4 separate regions of the Homo sapiens genome follow, and all the other regions are linked to region 1. Evidence: promoter capture Hi-C in 16 types of primary human blood cells and fetal thymus (Javierre and others, 2016). All regions are on one chromosome and are shown on one strand. The core of a region is centred on a gene start or on the middle of the fragment in contact, and the rest is flanking DNA. Distances in the headings are between cores, read along the strand shown. Region 1 holds the start of METTL4 (methyltransferase 4, N6-adenosine). Region 2 overlaps YES1 (YES proto-oncogene 1, Src family tyrosine kinase). Region 3 has its middle 38 kb from the start of YES1. Region 4 overlaps DLGAP1 (DLG associated protein 1).

Region 1 (3,145 bases), core at 200-2,699:
AAAAAAAACTTTCCAGACAGAGATGGTACATTAAGCAACTATTTATCCTTAAACAGAAAGACAGTCAGGTTTCATTGTTTCTTCAAGATCATCATCTTTCCCCTGGGGTATCTCTTTTTTGTTCATGTACACTGAAGTTCTCATTTGCAAGGAACATCTATTTAATTCCATTTAAAAATATTCAACATAAACATTTATTAACTGCCCACTATATATATAGGGGAGTGTGCTAGGCAATGCAGGAGATGCAAAGACGAGTAAGTTACGGTTTTTGCCTTCACAAGGGTATCCGTGGTAGCTAAAGCCCTGTCTGTTACCCAGACCACATTACTGCTGTTGGCTGTGCCTATTTCAATAGGAAGACAAAAAAATTACCTCAAATTCTCTTATTCACCTCAAAATGTTTCCTTTTCTTTGGTTTCAGAGAATGGAATTATTCTGTTTTCCTAATGTCAATCTCTCCTGCTCTGTCCTTAACCCATTGTTTCCTCAATTACTGCCCTTTTGGCATCAATCTCCCCTTCAACAAGGATAAATCATCCGGTCCATAAAATGGTCTATAGGCTGCCTCCATTTACAAACCACATTAACAGGTCACTCCCTTCACATCTGCTAAAAAATTTGTCTCCTAGGATACACATGATTGACAAAACTTTTGATCCTGTCTCATCTCTGCACCCAGCCTTCTCAGGTCCTGCCCTGGCTTTCAGGAAGGTGACAATCCTTTTACTTCTCTGGGTACTCCTTAGTCTTTTACACTGATTAGACTCTTCTTGATTTTGGCCGCCTATTTCCTCTTCAATATGCGCTTGTTCATCTATTCAACTTTTCCACTCACACCTGTGTGTCCACGTTTAATCTCCACTTAGAATGTAGCTCTCATGATTTAAGATGAAGACTTCTACACGCAGTCCTACACGGCCATAAGAAGCTACACTAGTATTCAGACGCAACCCACCCAACGAGTCCTCTCTTGTCCATCTCTTTCCGCCCCCTTCAATTCTTCCCCGTTTCCTCTCCCGAGCCTCCACTCCTCATCAGTGTCCCCCAGGCCCTCCCCTTTCCTCCTTGGGAAATCGTTGCCACTAGAAATTTAATAGATCCCGTGAAACCAGCGCCTCGCACAGTTTTGGCCTCGAGGCTTCTCCCAACAGCAAACAAACACCAAAACATCGCCTCAGGACCTCTAAATTTAAGTCATTGGCGCCATCACTTTCTTCCTCCAGAACAGCTCTGCAGAAACAAAGTTAATCCGATGTCATTCAGTCACCTTTTTTCCAGTTTCCTGACACGACCCAGGGACCGAATTTCTGTAAACCGTGCAAGTATCTGCTAGACAGGACAGCGGTCATCAAAACACCAGGTCCTTCCTCGGCCCGCCAAAGCCGTTCGAATTTGAAATTCTCCGCCGGCGCTGACGTCATTACGCACGACGCGCGCAGTAACTTCCATGCGACCGCCTCGTCGCTGGAAGGCTGCGTGCTGGTCGCGCCCAGCTGCGTCACCCCAGGAACTGGGGTCTGTGGGCCAGTGTGGCCGTCTCTACGAAGACTGGCACGACCCCTAAAGTTAGGTCGGAAGACCTGTGGGCAGCTTGAGCGCCGAGGAGTGCCCTGAACGCTCAACTCGCCCTGGAAACGTTTTTCCGTACAGCAACATGGCGGCGCCCATGGACTCTTAGAAAAGGAGAAAGCTTTTTCTCTGTGGACTGGAAGGGGCATTTTTCATGATCACTATTTAGATGGGTGCTGTTTTCATGAGGAGAGTCTGGGAAGGCGGCGTCCGCTTTTCTGACAAGGGAAGAGGTGAGGTGGGAGAGGGGCTGCGGAGTGGGTGGAATGGGCTCCCAGGATTGCGTTGGTACGGCTGCCGAAATTCGGGCTCAGTATTTGATCACTTGCCGGAGGCTCACGGTCCTCTGGTGGTGGCTGACCTGTGAGAGGCTAGGAAGAATCCAAGTGTTTGGGGGCGGGCGGCGAGGGAGTGGATGTGAAGCAGAGACGCAGGAGAGGGGTGCACTAACAACAGTAACAGTAGATCACTTTGCTAAAATAGGATTTCCTCGCTGCTGTGAGTTTGAATCCAGAAACAGGCACTGCCCGGTACCTGGAGAGTGGTGGTGATGAAAGATCTCACAGCTCCAGGAAGTCTGGATACTTGGGTCTGGTAGCAATTGTGCCATTAACTAGCGTTGTTATTTTTGGGCAGCTTGCCTTTCTGCTCTGAGTTTCAATTTTCCCGTCTGAATTTCTAGCTCTCACTAGCCATTCCAGGACCCTTTTCACCTCAGCTGTGGCCTATGAAGGGGATGGGGAGGAACCAAGGATTATATTAATATAAAAATTATATGAAAATTAGGCAACCGTCTGATAATAAAAAGTCTCCTTGTGGAATACTGTTAGGTTAAACTTTACCTACAGATTGTTAAATCCTTAGCACTAATGTTTTCCCCAGAAAAGATTAATGGAAACATCATTTGCTTTTCTGACTAGATAGTTGCTGCTTCCAAAGGTGGTTTTACACAAATACAAAATTAAAAACACCTTTAGTACAGAAATAATTGCTTGTATTTCGGTATACATTCACAGTACAGTTCAGCATTTAGTGGTCCTGCTAGCAATTTGCCAGGAAGTCAAGCCTGCCAATTTCCTGATATTCCTGCTGTGCACCCCAACTTCTTAATCCCTGCTGAGGATCTTGAGAAGCAGCAGCACCAAAACCAAAGTAGGCACCAAATTCAAGGTTCTTTTGGTTCCGGTTGTCACATTTCAAGCTAGACTCCAATAGATGGAAGGATGATCACATGTGAGCCCTGTTTAAAACTTCAATTTTTAAGAGCAAGCACAATTGCAGGAAAAGAAAACAATTCAGAGGGATCATGTGTGCTTACAGTTGTCTTCATGTGGCCTTTTCCCAGGTTTAACCACCAAGGACCCTGACAGCCGGGGTGTCTGAATAACCCTGGTGACTCTTTTCACCATATCAAAACCTGAGTTAAAAGGCTGATGATAACAGCAGAAGGTGGCAGGGCTGAGGACCCACTATTAATTTCCTAGGCTGGTGGAGAGTGAATAAATGTTCTTCCAACCTTACCTTATGGCTTCTGGTCAAAGCAAAGAAGTGTCGTGGAAAGTGTTGGGTGGTG
Region 2 (3,145 bases), core at 186-2,685, 1.8 Mb after region 1:
TTGATCAAGCATGTTACCAAGCAGTGGCATCACTTGTAATTGCCTTTGTCACAATGTGAATTTATGTGGTTATTTTAGTGAGAATAGGAGAGAACATGTCTCATTTATAATAAGAAAGATTGTATAAGCAGAATTCATAAGTCAAGCTGTTATGAATCTAGGGTTCCCTGACTTTGTGTCTCCCTTATTTAAAAAAATCAGTCTCCTGTTAGGCATGTGGATTGTGCCTTTAATCCCAACTACTGATGCAGGAGGATCACTTGAGGCCAGGAGTTCAAGAACAGCCTGGGCAACATAGCAAGACCTCATCTCTTAAAAAAAAAAAAAAAAAAAAAAAAAAGGCCAGGCGTGGTGGCTCACTCCTGTAATCCCACCACTTTGGGAGGCCGAAACAGACAGATCACTTGAGGTCAGGAGTTTGAGACCAGCCTGGGCAACATGGCAAAACCCTATCTATTAAAATATAAAAAAATTTAGCCAGGCGTGGTGGCATGCACCTGTAGGCTCAGCTACTTGGGAGGCTGAGGCAGGAGAATCACTTGAACCTGGGAGGTGGAAGTTGCAGTGAGCTGAGACCACACCACTGCACTCCATCCTGGGCGACAGAGTGAGACTCCATCTCAAAAAAAAAAAAAGAAAAAATCTCCTAAATGATCCTAAATGAACTTTTTCCTTGATTTTTTGGTATGCCTCTTACAAATTAGTGGCTATTAGATAATAACATTTAATGATAACATTCTCTTTGAGAATTAATAAAACCCAGTGTACAAAGGCAGAACTTTGGAAGCAGACAGACCTAGATTTGAATCCCATCTCTACCATTTACTAACTGCAGGGCCTTAGGGGAAAGTTGCGTATGTTTTCAAAGCTTCATTTATATATGAGATACTTGTGAAGTGCTAATTTAGCACAATAGTGGAACATACTAAGTATTTAGTAAATAATAACTTAAAAAAATATATATTTTAAGTTATACTAAGTATTTAGTAAATATACTAACATATCTACTATATATTAGTATATACATACTAAGTAGTAAATACAATATATTTACTATATATTAGTATATACATACTAAGTAGTAAGTAATAACATGTATATATATATATATTTTTTTTTTTTTCGAGTCAGAATCTCACTGTGTCACCCAGGCTAGAGTGCAGTGGCGCAATTTTGGCTCACTGCAACCTCTGCCTCCTGGGTTCATGCGATCCATCTGCCTCAGCTTCCTTAGTAGCTGAGACTACAGGCATGCACCACCATGCCCGGCTAACTTTTGTATTTTTAGTAGAGACAGTGTTTCACTGTATTGGCCAGGCTAGTCTCGAACTCCTGACCTCGTGATTCATCTGCCTCAACCTCCCAAAGTGCTGGGATTACAGACGTGAGACACCTTGCCCGGCCTTAAAAATAAATTTTACAAAATGTTTCACTTATGTATATTTCATGTTTTGCTGCTTATGGACAACTCCCTTTTTGTTTTGTGCTTTTAGAGTAAAACTCGAAAGGACTTCTGTTTTTGTTTTTCTACAGTTTAAACTTAAAACATTGATACACTATATGCCCCTTAATTTTTGTAATTGATATTACAGTATAGTTTATTCATTTATCTAGAACATGCTGATGGTTTATGCCACAAGTTGACAACTGTGTGTCCAACTGTGAAACCTCAGACTCAAGGTCTAGCAAAAGATGCTTGGGAAATCCCTCGAGAATCTTTGCGACTAGAGGTTAAACTAGGACAAGGATGTTTCGGCGAAGTGTGGATGGGTAAGAAGCCTGAATTTTTGTTTTCTGTCATTGTTTAGCTGTGGATTAAAGTGCAACAATTTATGATAAAATATGTTTCAATATTTAAGAGAAGTGCTGTTCACTGAAGTTTGGTCTAAAATCCTTTAAAATATAAATTCCTAAAATGTGTTATTTCTTTAGGAACATGGAATGGAACCACGAAAGTAGCAATCAAAACACTAAAACCAGGTACAATGATGCCAGAAGCTTTCCTTCAAGAAGCTCAGATAATGAAAAAATTAAGACATGATAAACTTGTTCCACTATATGCTGTTGTTTCTGAAGAACCAATTTACATTGTCACTGAATTTATGTCAAAAGGTATGTATTAGTATCTCCTTAGGTATTTGTGTTGATAATGTTTTTAAGAGTCTTGATTTGTATGCATATAGACTTATACTGTTTTCTAATTTAAGATTTTTATGTAGACATATTTGGATAGAAGAAACCTGACACTTTGTTTAATGGAATAGTGATTATCCAGTTATTCCAGAGGATAGTATGACGTTTAAAAGGAAAAGTAGGCAGGCTGAATTAATTTTGAAATTAAGTTTGACTAAAACAAATGGAAAAGCTAGAAAGGTGAAAAATAGAAAGTGTTTGTACACATTTAATTAAAATGATAAAATCAGAAAGATACTTACATTTTTAGTACTAAAGCAAAGAAATAAGGTAAAGTTAAAATGAATTAGTTTTCTCATTTTAATATAAACATAATTCCTATATTCAGGACTTCTAGGAACTTTTTTCCCCACTGCTTTCTTTTTTTTTTTTTTTTTAAATAGAGACTGGGGTCTCAACTATGTTGCCCAGGCTGGTCTTGAACTCCTGGCCTCAGGCAGTCCTCCCTTTTTGGCCTCCCAAAGTGCTGGTATTACCAGCATGAGCCACTGTGCCTGGCCTCCCCACTACCTTCAATGGAAGTTTCTTCATTTTCCTTAACTCTAGACCACAAGATGGGATCTTCAGTAACAGGGTTAGTTAGGGGGAGGATAAAGAGAAGATTGATACTCTTTCCTCTTTTTCCCTGTGCAGATGGTACTTAGAGGAACTAGTAAGTCAGCAGATAAGCTGACAGGCCTGATTTTTATGTGTTTGATTTCATCTGCTTTATTATTATTTTTACTCTTGAACCAATAATATACAGTAGTCACTAATTATGTCACCCTCTCCAGTGGTGTGTCTTGGTCAATGATGTAGTTCCATCTAGTGGTGACAAGGACAACTACAAGTTACATATTTGCTGTAGGAAAATTTTTCCCCTCAAAAGGGGACTGAAACCAAAAGTTAAGAAATTATACAGCCTATTAATTGATAGCCAGAACACACCTAAAGACCCAAAGCACCTGGCGCT
Region 3 (3,145 bases), core at 400-2,899, 1.7 Mb after region 1:
CTTACACCTGTAATCCCAGCACTTTGGGAGGCCAAGGCAGGTGGATGACCTGAGGTCGGGAGTTCAAGATGACCTGGCCAACCTGGTGAAACCCCATCTCTATTAAAAATACAAACAAAAAAAACAGCTGGGTGTGGTGGCACATGCCTATAAATCCCAGCTACTCGGGAGTCTGGGGCAGGAGAATCATTTGAACTCAGGAAGCGGAGGTGGCAGTGAGCTGAGATCTTGCCACTGCACTCCAGCCTGGGTGACAGAGTGAGACTCCATCTCAAAAATAATAATAATAATAATAATGCTACTATGAGTATTCATATACAAGTCCTCGTGTTCACATATATTTTCTCTTGGGTAGATACCTAGGAACGGAATTGCTGGATCACATACTGGAAACATTAATTATTTTCCAGAGAGGCTGTACTATTTTACATTCTCACCAGTAATGAAAGTTAATCTAGTTTCTGTACATCGTCCCATCTCTTTTATTCTAGAACAGACTCCATCTCCCCAATTATTTTCATGAAATTAAGTGTTTTAGGCGACCTGGCTAGTTGCATTGCATTAGTTGGTGCAAAAGTAATTACCACTTTTGCCATTGCTCGGTTTTGGACTTGCTTATGTGGCAGTCCCATAGAAGGTTGTCTGGGCTGGAATGGCCACATGAGCAAGTCCAAACCAACTAATGGCAAAAACCGCAATTACTTTTGCACCAACTAATACAGTCTCCCACATTCCAGGTTTGACTTTATTTCTTTGTGATATTGTTTGGCTTGTTTCTCTATCCCCTGTATTTCCAGGAATTGGAAGTAAGATGTAAAGGCTTCCTCTTATTCAGGTTAATATTTACATCAAGAATCATATACTGCCTGACTGGTCCACTATTAGTAATTTTTAAATTGATTTGCTACGTTGGGGTAGTAAAAGCCAGATGTCTCCATTTCAAAGGTATTTTGCCCTTTGCAATTAGCAAGTAACGCATGGGAAAATGCCATGCCTATTGCCAAAAAAAAAAAATAGGAGGGGTGTCTTAGATAACTTACAACATATTAAAACTGACAATGACAATTGAAATTAAACATGGGCCAGGGACTCAAAAATGAGGACTCATACCTATAGTGCCAGCTGCTCAGGAGGCTGTGGTGAGAGGATCACTTGAGCCCAGGAGTTGGAGGCCATAGTGAGCTATGATCATGCTACTGCAGTCCAGCATGGGCGACAGAGCAAGACCCTGTCTAAATAATAATAATATTATTATTTTAAAGAACCATATGTGTACTTAGCATCTGTTAGGAATCAAGCAGTACAACTGAGCACTCATTTGGCCCTGAATTTTCTGATAACCAAAACAATAAAGCAAAGATATTTAGTTAGAGGGCCAGGTGCAGTGGCTCACACCTGTAATCCTAGCATTTTTGGGAGGTGGAGGCAGGCAGATCACCTGAGGTCAGGAGTTCAAGACCAGCCTGGCCAACATGGTGAAACCCCATCTCTACTAAAAATACAAAAATTAGCCGGGCATGGTGGCAGGGGCCTGTAGTCCCAGCTACTCAGGAGGCCGAGGCAAGAGAATCGCCTGAACCCAGGAGGCGGAGGTTGCAGTGAGCCCAGATCGCACCTCTGCACTCCAGCCTGGGTAACAGCGAAAGTCTGTCTCAAAAAAAAAAAGATATTAAGTTAGAGGTCTCACTTCCAACTGGAATAAGGTACATGAATTGTTTCATAAAAGTGAACTGGACTTCAGCAGGAATTTCTCACAGGGATGCTTATATAAATACCTCAAATAAGATAGTGAATAATTATTCTAATGAGTATGAAAGCCCAGACATTTGTATACCTTCACTAAGGAACCAGCCTTCTGTATCTGAAAAGAACGACCTCCTCCACCAAACATCCAGTTTCATGAGGCAGACCCCAAAGAGTGAGAAAAGGAGATACCTGTCATTCCTGCAGGATCAATTAAAGCAGCTTTAGTAACTAGTAAAATGACAGACATTACAAGCAATTTCACCTAACAGTGTTTTTTTGGTTACTTTTATATTGATATTTCTAAGGGAAATAGGACTACACACACACACACACACACACACACACACACACACACAGACAGTCAAAAAATATTTCTAGGATGGGCGTGGTGGCTCACACCTATAATCCCAGCACTTTGGGAGGCCGAGGCAGGTGGATCACCTGAGGTCAGGAGTTCGAGACCAGCCTGGCCAACATGGCGAAACCCCGTCTCTACTAAAAATACAAAAATTAGCTGGGCATGGTGGCACACGCCTGTAATCCCAGCTACTCGGGAGGTTGAGGCAGGAGAATCGCTTGAACTCAGGAGGTGGAGGTTACAGTAAGCCAAGATCACACCACTGCACTCCAGCCTGGGTGACAGAACAAGACTCTGTCTCAAAAAAAAAACATTATTTCTGATCACCTAATATATTACAGTCAGATAACAGATACCCTAGAACACCAGACAAATATAACTCCCACGAATCTTCTTTCACATTAAAATTATTCCTTTCTCTCTCTTTCTCCCTCCCTGTCTCACCAGATGTCACAAGCAAACTTCTGTCAAATGCTGAGTTGCAACCAACTCAGTGGTGAGTGAGTAAATGCCAGTCTTCTGTGTTGTGAGTAGAAGAAAACACACATGTCTTAGGCCCCAGACATGCAGATGGCAGGACTGCAAGTGCTGGGAAAATGGAGGAACGTGATTTATTTTCTTGCCAGAGACAAGCCTGTCCTGCTTCCTCAGGGGTGCCGCCAGAACCAATTATTTCTCTCAAAAAACAGCTTTGGATCCGCTCAGAAACTCAAAGAGAAGGGCTTTGTTGATAAATCCATATCATAAAACATGGAAGAAACAAATTTGTCTTCAAAGTGCTAAAAGTATAGGTTTTAGAGTCCAGACAAACTGAATTTCAGCTTTATTACTCACTAAGTAGCCCAGAGTTACTAATGTCCCAAATTTTCTGCTTCCACGTCTTTGAACCAGGGACCGCACCTATCCCCCAGAGTCATTTTGAAGAATAAAGAAGATAAGGTACAGAAAGTGCCCAGCACAGTGTGAGCGCTTCAAAGATGGCAGCTCCTGCGCCCCAGAGCTCCCAGCGCCTTTCGTCAGCCCAACGGGTGGAGCTTGCAC
Region 4 (3,145 bases), core at 454-2,953, 1.1 Mb before region 1:
GGTGTAGTGGTGGGCGCCTGTAGTTGCAGCTACTACGGAGGCTGAGGCAGGAGGCTCCCTTGAGCCTAGGAGTTCAAGATTGCAGTGAGCTATGATTGCACCACTGCACTGCAGCTTGAATGACACAGCAAGACCCTATCTCTAAAACAAATTTAAAAATTGTTTAAAAAAAAACTTTTTAAATTGACAGATTAGAATCTGATCAGTTTCTTTCCAGAGCTACTTGAACATCTCAGGAGATTCTGCTAAGGATGGAAAAGGAAGGAGTTTTAATTTCAAAGTTTCATTCCATGTCTTGTCAAACCAAGTCTAGATTTGCCATTTAGAACTGCATTCTCTGATCCTGTGTTTTAAGAGAGGTTTCTCCATGTAGATGAAACCAGGAGCTGCATCCTTCCTCGGATTGGTAGGTGTTCCATGGGCTTTATCTGTGCGGCGTAATGACAGCACACAAACGCCAGGGGGCAATGCAGTTTCACCGAAGAATCCTAGGAAACTCGGGTCTGGCTTTGACTAAGAACATTGGCAGGATCCTGGGGCAAAGGTGGAAATCCTTACTAAAAAGAGTTCCGCCAAGGAAAAAATATGTTTAAAAATCCTTTCTTTGAAAGCTTCCTGCATTGTCATCAAAATTGCCCTTCAGTATTTGTGCACAGCTGGAAGTTTTGTGATATTATTTGCAAAAGATTTACTTTTCGTTTTTTCTCAATGCGGCTGCCTAGTCTTTCCTGGAAGGTTTCCTGGGTCTTTCTGCGTAGGAAGGATTATTCTAACCAGCTCTCGGGTAGCCTGGATCACATTGTTAGGACTCTGTTGCGTCCTCTGCCTGACCGCGGGGCTCTCTTCCCCCGGTGCCCATTCAGCGCTTCCAGCTGCCTCTGCGGTTGGAGCCGGGCTCCCTTTAAGGTAATTCCAGTCTGGGCCTGTGTTTTGTTTCCAGCTCGGCAGCCGCCAGGTGTCTGCCCTCCCTTAACCTCCAAGGATGAGAGATCAAAGGTGCCCCTACATCTGCCTCCTGCCCAGCTCTTTAATCTGTTACATGTTCAAAAGGGACAAATGCAGTATTGTGCACTCAGGGAGGGAGGACAAATCAGAGAAGTGGAAATGGGCAGAGCCTCAGAATGTGTTAACTTACATAAATGATACGGAATATGCCTGTCGACATATTAGCCCTGCCACTGTAGAGGTGTTTTCTTCTTAAAAGAGCAAGAATATTATGCAGAAATGGAAATCCTCTTTTCTCCCTTTGGAAGCCTACTAAACCCATTTAATGAAATATCGTACACAGACCCATTTGGAGGTCACTATTAGAAATATAACGAGGTAAAACAAAATATTTTTTAAATTTATGAAATGGAAATTACAAGGGCACTTGTAGAGACCTGAGCTTATTTTATATGTGGCAAAAATGATAAACTAATCTTTAAGCAGAGCAGATATATTTTAAGAAAGACTATTCCCAGCGGAGCATGTATTTTCCATATCCGTAGAGCTAAGTAGGGGAATGCATTTTAAAACAGTAGGAATTCAGATTAGGTATTAAGAAAATAATACTGAGAGCAATGGTTATGGAAGGTACAGAATTTTCCTAACAGCACTAAGGAAGCAGCAATTATTTCTTCCATTTTTAGAGGAAGGGGTTGGGGGGAGGGGGAAGAGCTCCTGATCTAGTAACAAATTGTTTCTAAACTTAAATTTAGAAACATTTTAAACAGTTTGAGCATCCACGATTTTCTTTAGACTTTTAGGAGAGCTCCCTAATTTCCAACTAAAGACATAAATGTGAACAGGCACTAATTACTTTTTTCTCTATGCATTCCTGCGCCCACACACCCAGAGGCTCTCTTGTGCTTCCTCTTCCCCAGCGGTTACAAAAAGGAACTCCAGCAACTTCAGTTGTGCTTAGCTGCCGTCACAGACAATAGCATAGTAGGACCAGTGGCCTCATATTAAGTCACAGTCTTTCCCAGTTACAATGGCTGAGAACCCAGATTTTCACAAGGTGCAAAGAAAAGAATATTGACATGGTTATTAAAAGCTATGGTGAGAAGGGAGTCTTTATCAGCTGCTTCAAATATTTCATTCACCTTCTTAACAAATATTTATTCTGCACTTACTATGTCCAGACATGGTGCTGAACTCGGGGAATTCACTGGTGATCAAAAGCAGTCTTACCCTTTGTTCTCATGGAGTTTACCATCTAGGGGTAGAGACTAGCGTCAATCAAATAATCACAGAGATAACTGCGCTGAAAGAAAGAGACAGTTCTTGTGGGAGGATCTATTGTAACAAAGGGACTAATCTAGAGGCTCAGGGAGAACTTCCCTGAGAAAATCCTCATTAGCTAAGAGTCAAAGGATCAAGAAGGGTGAGGGATGGCACGTGCTAATTCTGCATTCAATATTAGTAGAACTGAAAGGGTGATGTGGCTGGAGTACCAAGAGCTAAGGGACAGGGCACATGTGTAGTCAGAAAATGTATGCACAGCTGACTATGTCTGTCATCTGTTGCTACATACCTTATTACCCCAATGTGGAGCAGCTGAAAAACAATCATTATATTATACCTTATGATTTTGAATCAGGAATTTAGGCAGGGTTCAGCTGGGCAATTCTTCTGTTCCACATTCAGCTAGAAGTTGGTGTATTAGTCAGAGTTCTCCAGAGAAGTAGTATATCCGTGTGTGTGTGTGTGTGTGGGTGTGTGTGTGTGTGTGTGTGTGTGTGTGTGTGTATACTGACCCATAATTATGGAGGCTGAGAAGTCCCAAGATCTGCAGTCAGCAAGCAAGCTTGAAACCCAGGAGAGCCAATGGTATAGTTCCAATCTGGGTCCAAAGACCTGAGAACATGGAGAACAATTGTGTAAGTTCCAGTTCAAGTCGAAGTCCAAAGGGAAGAGAAGACTGATGTCCCAGCAGAGACAGAGAATTCTCTCTTACTTTGTCTTTTTGTTCTATTCAGGACTTCAACTCATTGGACAAGACCCACCCACCTTAGGAAGGGAAGTCTGCTGTACTCAATGAACTGATCCAAATGTTAATCTCATCCAGAAACACCTTCACACACACTCGAAATAATGTTTGTTCAAATCTCTGGGCACCTCATGGCCCAGTCAAGTTGACACACAAACTAACCATCACAGT

What was found. The method cuts DNA at HindIII sites, captures the fragments that hold promoters and counts their contacts. A CHiCAGO score of 5 or more calls a contact.
Region 2: a fragment that was not itself captured here is called in contact with the fragment with the promoter of METTL4 in region 1 in 1 of 17 cell types (naive CD8 T cells); the score reaches 7.3 in naive CD8 T cells.
Region 3: a contact is called between a fragment that was not itself captured here and the fragment with the promoter of METTL4 in region 1, in 4 of 17 cell types (M1 macrophages, megakaryocytes, M0 macrophages and 1 more). The highest score is 6.2, in M1 macrophages.
Region 4: a contact is called between a fragment that was not itself captured here and the fragment with the promoter of METTL4 in region 1, in 1 of 17 cell types (fetal thymus). The highest score is 5.2, in fetal thymus.

What each region holds. Positions count from the first base shown.
Region 1 is chr18:2,569,809-2,572,953 of GRCh38, reverse strand. It overlaps METTL4 (methyltransferase 4, N6-adenosine), which reads left to right and starts at 1,449. Exons shown (of 9, transcript NM_022840.5): 1 at 1,449-1,805. It overlaps NDC80 (NDC80 kinetochore complex component), which reads right to left and starts at 1,397. Exons shown (of 17, transcript NM_006101.3): 1 at 1,271-1,397. RefSeq lists enhancers at 1,392-1,551, 1,434-2,356. The HindIII fragment of the contact is 2,186 bases long and covers 1-1,695 here.
Region 2 is chr18:741,885-745,029 of GRCh38, reverse strand. YES1 (YES proto-oncogene 1, Src family tyrosine kinase) reads left to right here. Exons shown (of 12, transcript NM_005433.4): 7 at 1,615-1,770; 8 at 1,933-2,112. Among named protein-coding and RNA genes, the nearest start is that of ENOSF1, 31 kb to the right of the region's middle. RefSeq lists an enhancer at 3,037-3,106. The HindIII fragment of the contact is 1,130 bases long and covers 871-2,000 here.
Region 3 is chr18:848,726-851,870 of GRCh38, reverse strand. No RefSeq gene overlaps it. Among named protein-coding and RNA genes, the nearest start is that of YES1, 38 kb to the right of the region's middle. The HindIII fragment of the contact is 7,135 bases long and covers 1-3,145 here.
Region 4 is chr18:3,663,772-3,666,916 of GRCh38, reverse strand. All of the region lies in intron 7 of DLGAP1 (DLG associated protein 1), which reads left to right. Among named protein-coding and RNA genes, the nearest start is that of DLGAP1-AS6, 12 kb to the right of the region's middle. RefSeq lists a silencer at 854-1,148. The HindIII fragment of the contact is 2,180 bases long and covers 614-2,793 here.